2 separate regions of the Homo sapiens genome follow, and region 2 is linked to region 1. Evidence: promoter capture Hi-C in human tissues and cell types (Jung and others, 2019). All regions are on one chromosome and are shown on one strand. The core of a region is centred on a gene start or on the middle of the fragment in contact, and the rest is flanking DNA. Distances in the headings are between cores, read along the strand shown.

What was found. Contacts are between HindIII fragments. The study calls those that stand out against the background at their distance.
Region 2: a contact is called between a fragment that was not itself captured here and the fragment with the promoter of SNRNP35 in region 1, in 2 of the 25 tissues and cell types used here (H1 embryonic stem cells and dorsolateral prefrontal cortex).

The regions. Positions count from the first base shown.
Region 1 is chr12:123,456,705-123,459,404 of GRCh38, reverse strand. SNRNP35 (small nuclear ribonucleoprotein U11/U12 subunit 35) reads right to left here and starts at 1,266. Exons shown (of 2, transcript NM_022717.4): 1 at 1,189-1,266. RefSeq lists enhancers at 1-712, 959-1,038, 713-1,579. The HindIII fragment of the contact is 15,518 bases long and covers 1-2,700 here.
Region 2 is chr12:123,621,245-123,624,029 of GRCh38, reverse strand. It overlaps EIF2B1 (eukaryotic translation initiation factor 2B subunit alpha), which reads left to right. Exons shown (of 9, transcript NM_001414.4): 8 at 1,269-1,394; 9 at 2,110-2,785. The coding sequence ends at 2,274. Among named protein-coding and RNA genes, the nearest start is that of SNORA9B, 5.9 kb to the right of the region's middle. RefSeq lists an enhancer at 1,454-2,653. The HindIII fragment of the contact is 7,939 bases long and covers 1-2,785 here.

The sequences.
Region 1 (2,700 bases), core at 17-2,516:
CAAGGCGGGTGGATTATTTGAGGTCAGTAAATTTTGAGCTTCAGGATTCTTATTGTGAAATGTAGCTAAATGTCACTTCACTAGGTTTTTGTGAAGATTAGATCATATGGTGTCTATAAAAATGCATTACAATTATAAATTATTATACAAATTTAGAAAATTTTTGGCCAGGCACGCGCTGGCTCACGCCTGTAATACCAGCACTTTGAGAGGCCGAGGCTGGAGGATCGCTTGAGCCCAGAAATTCGAGACCAGCCTGGGCAACAAAGTGAGACCCCGTTTCAATCAATCAATCAATAATCAATTCTCCGGGCGTGGGGTCGCGCCTGTGGTCCCAGATACTTGAGAGGCTGAGGCGGGAGGACTGCTTGACCCGAAATGTCGACGCTGCAGTGAGCCGAGATCGCGCCACCGCTCTCCAGCCTGGGCGACTCCCTGTCTCTGGGGAAAAACAAAAAAATAAATGAAGCCTCTCCTTCCTGGGTCTTCGGGGTAAGACTCTGCCCCTCCTGGCCGGGCACGGTGGCTGACGGCTGTAATCCCAGCACTTTGGGAGGCCGAGGCGGGTGGATCACGAGGACAGGAGATCGAGACCATCCTGGCTAACATGGTGAAACCCCGTCTCCAGTAAAATACAAAAAATTAGCAGGGCGTGGTGGCGGGCGCCTGTAGTCTCAGCTACTCGGGAAGCTGAGGCAGTGGAATCGCTTGAACCCAGGAGGCGGAGGTTGCAGTGAACCGAGATCGCACCACTGCACTCCAGCCCGGGCGACAGAGCAAGACTGTCTCAAAAAGGAAAAAAAAAAAAAAAAGACTTTGCCCCTCCTGTGAAAAGCAAAACTGAAGGCGGAACCCACAGAGCCCTCCAGGGCATGCGCAGTGGGCCTCGGAGGCAAACACCTAAGTTTCTGTGGAAAAGCCTATCCTTCCCATCCAGCCTGCAGCCTGGCCGCCAACCCTCGAGGCCGCTCCCCCGCCCCTCTCCTTCTCTGGGGGCCGCAGGGAGTAAGGCGCCATCCTTCCAATCCAGCTCTCGTCCCCACTCCCCGCAACGCAACCCAGAATGTCGTCCCCTTTGCCAGGTTTCAACATGGCGCCCCACACAAGCGCGGGCACAGCGTCTGGGCCGCACTCCCTCTTCCTTCTCTCCGGCGTGGGGCCCGCTCCTTCCAAGCCGCTTCCACTCACCTCTGCAAAGCTTGGGCTCCCTTCCGACGGAGACAGGCGAGCAGCTGCAGGCGACAGCAGATTCTCCGCGCCGGCCTCGGCCTGACCTTTACATTGGTAGCAGCAGATTCGCCGCCGACGCTCGTTTCCTGTTTGTTTTACCTTTAAAATTTTACTCCCACGCAACGAGGGTGTTATCATCTCCGAAGACAATAAGCTAAAAAAAAATTTTTTTAAGAGAAAAATTGCTAATTCAACAACTAAGTTGAAAGAAAGACTATCGAATATGCAGTTACCTGGGACATTTTACTTTATTATTTATTTATTCTTATTTATTATTTTTTCTTGAGACGGAGACTCCCTCTGTCGCCCAGGCTGGAGTGCAGTGGTGCGAACTCGGCTCACTGCAACCTCCGCCTCCCGGGTTCAAGTGATTTTCCTGCCTCAGCCTCCCGCGTAGCTGGGATTACTGGCGCCCGCCACCACGCCCGGCTATTTTTTGTATTTTTAGTAGAGACAGGGTTTTGCCATGTTGGCCAGGCTGGTCTCGAACTTCTGACCTCAAGTGATCCGCCCGCCTCGGCCTCCCAAAGTGCTGGGATTACAGGCGTGAGCCATCGCGCCCGGCCCCAATTTCTTTATAAAAAAAAAAAAAAAAAAAAAGGCCAGGTGGCATGCCTCACGCCTGTAATCCCAGCACTTCGGGAGGCCGAGGCGGGCGGATCACCTGAGGTTCGGAGTTCGAGACCAGCCTGAGCAACATGGAGAAACCCCTTCTCTACTAAAAATACAAAATTAGCTGGACATGGTGTCATGTGCCTGTAATCCCAGCCACTCAGGAGGCTGAGGCAGGAGAATCACTTGAACCCGGGAGGCAGAGGTTTCGATGAACTGAGATGGTGCCATTGCACTCCAGCCTGAACAACAAGAGTGAAAGTCCGTCTCAAAAAAAAGAAAAATCTATAGCTTAAAATTTTATGTTTGAAAATATATGGTAGCCACTGTCAGTGGAGGCCATCTGCAGTTTCAGCTACTAGGGAGGCTGAGTCGTGAGGCTTGAGGCCAGGAGTTCAAGTTCAGCCTGTCAGCCTGGGCAACAGAGCAAGACCCCTATGTTGTTGTTTGTTTGTTTGTTTTTGTTTTGTTTTGTTTGAGACAGAGTTTCACTCTTGTTGCCCATATTGGAGTGCAATGGCACGATCTCGGCTGACCGCAACCTCCGCCTCCCAGGTTCAAGCAATTCTCCTGACAGCCTTCCGAGTAGCTGGGATTACAGGCATGTGCCACCATGCCCGGCTAATTTTGTATTTTTAGTAGAGATGGGGTTTCTCCATGTTGGTCAGGCTGGTCTTGAACTCCCGATCTCAAGTGATCTGCCTGCCTTGGCCTCCCAAAGTGCTGGGATTACAGGCGTGAGCCACCACACCTGGCTGACCCCTATGCTTTTAAACACACACACACACACACACACACACACACACACACACACACACACACACACGTGGTATGTACAGTACATGCAATGGAATACTA
Region 2 (2,785 bases), core at 27-2,526, 160 kb before region 1:
ACATTCACTCTGTTGCCCAGGCTGTAGTGTAGTACAGTGATCATAGCTTACTGCAGTCTTGAACTCCTAGCCTGAAGCAATCTTTCCACTTCCCAAAGTGCTAGGATTACAGGCATGAGCCACTGTGGCCGGCCTGTCATTTGTTTTCATTTTAATTGAGCACATTTGACCTCAATTTATTACAATCTCTCTCTCCATTATTTAATTTAGAAAAGCTTCATGAAAGCTTTTTTTAGTTAAAATATATGTAACATAAGGCCGGGCGTAGTAGCTCACGCCTATAATCCCAGCACTTTGGGAGGCTGAGGCAGGTAGATCATCTGAGGTCAGGAGTTCGAGACCAGCCTGGCCAACATGGTGAAACCCCATATCTACTAAAAATACAAAAAATTAGCTGGGCATGGTGGCGGGTGCCTGTAATCCCAGCTACTTGGCAGGCTGACGCAGGAGAATCGCTTGAACCTGGGAGGCGGAGGTCTGCAGGCAGAGTGTTGAGTCACATGGTAACTATATATTTAACTTTCAGAAACTAATGATTTTCCACAGCAGCTGCACTACTTTACATTCCCACTAGCAAAGCACAAAGGTTCCAATTTCTCTACATCCTTGCCAACACTTGTTTTTTTAAATTTTTTTATTTTTTGAGATGGAGTTTCACTCTTGCTGTCCAGGCTGGAGTGCAATGGCACAGTCTTGGCTCACTGCAACCTCCAGTGCCCGGGTTCAAGCGAGTCTCCTGCTTCAGCCTCCCTAGTAGCTGGGATTACAGGCACCCCCCATCCCACCATGCCCAGCTAATTTTTTGTATTTTTAGTAGAGATGGGGTTTCCCTATATTGGCCAGCTGGTCTCAAACTCCTGACCTCAGGTGATCCACCCACCTCGGCCTCCCAAAGTGCTGGGATTACAGGCGTGAGCCACCACATCCAGCCTCTAGTGGCTGTTTCTATATCCTTTGAGAAACATTTATTTTTTTGATTCCAAAGTCAGAATTAGATATATCTAATATATGTATTAGATATATGTATATCTATATTATATACATAACTTTCTATTGCTGTTTTTTAATTGTTCCTTTATTGTAATTGAGACGAGGTCTCACCGTGTTGCCTAGGCTGGTCCCAAACTCATGGGTTCAGGTGATCCACCCACCTCGGCCTCCCAAAATGCTGGAATACAGGCATGCACCACTGTGCCCGGCCCGCTTTTCTGTGGCTTCTACTTCAGATGCACTCTAGAGCTCATCCATTCCATTTTCTGCCTTCCCAGATTGGAACCAACCAGATGGCTGTGTGTGCCAAAGCACAGAACAAACCTTTCTATGTGGTTGCAGAAAGTTTCAAGTTTGTCCGGCTCTTTCCACTAAACCAGCAAGACGTCCCAGATAAGTTTAAGGCAAGAGTTTTACATATTTGAAGGGGTACTAAAGTCTAAACAGAAACCTTTGGAAATTGTAGTCCTAAGAATGTTCCAGTAATTTTTTCACTTCCTATTGCTACTTTCCCCAACACTTGGAATACAAAGATAAATTGGTGATTGGACTCACACATTTGTCCCTAGAACTTCAGTCTTTCAGTCTCTTTAAGTAGCACCATAGATGGGTGGAGAGGAAGCCCGAAGCTGGTGGGTAAGTCCCAGCTTTGGGCTTAACTGAGCTCAGCTCCCATCACCACAACTTACAAACTGTGCGAGTTGAGGCAAGTCCTTTCATTTCAACCTCTGAACCGGTTTTCTTGTCTGTAAAATGGCATAGCAGTATCTGACAGGGTCATGAGGATTCTAAGATAATCTTAGCACAGTCCCTGGCACGCTGCAAGCTCTCTATTGTGACTCTCGATCTTCCCTTGAGAGGTCTGGAGAAGTTAATCCGGCATGAGAATGAGGGGACATGGGATTTAAGTTTGTTACACTACAGCTCTCAGCCAGCACACTGCCATGATCTGGCTCATGGCCACAACTCTGCCCTCGTCTCTAGTGTCCTGCATAGCTTAGTTTCTCCCATTTTCAGAGAGCAGTCTCAGGAAGTAGCACACTGATCACTCACACCAAGGCCCTACCAGGTCAGAGCACTAAATATTCAGTGCCGACTAATGTGTACTTCTCTCCTCAGTATAAGGCAGACACTCTCAAGGTCGCGCAGACTGGACAAGACCTCAAAGAGGAGCATCCGTGGGTCGACTACACTGCCCCTTCCTTAATCACTCTGCTGTTTACAGACCTGGGCGTGCTGACACCCTCAGCAGTCAGCGATGAGCTCATCAAGCTCTATCTGTAACCTGTGAGCCCTTTCCTGCCAAGGTGCAGCTTACGTAGTTGAGGCAGGGTGAGTAGCTGCTTGACACCCCAGTGAGTCAGGCCAAAACTGAGATGTGTTTAATGAAGATTTATGGAGTAAGGACTTAAAATCATACATCTTGGAGAACCTTTCTTACTCATTTCAGTCCCATCTAAAAATGTGTCAGCTATTCTAAATCCCAACTTAAATTGTTCTTACGGTTTCTAGAAACTTTCCTTTTCAGTTTCCAGAAATACAAGTTAGATAATTGGCTACTTAACTGATGAAAGATGAGCCCAAGTCCACCTGTCTTCATCCTCCCCTGCACTCCAGACTGATCTGCCTAAAGCACGCGAGATGCAGGCGAAAAGCAGCCACACCCCTCTGCCACAAATGACCAACAGCTGGTCAGGACGTTACACGCGGTGCCTTGTAAGAGGCAAGAAACACTTGCTGAATCTGCATCTGGCTTCCAGTGGTAAGCACATTCCTCAGCAGGATCAAGCCAAAC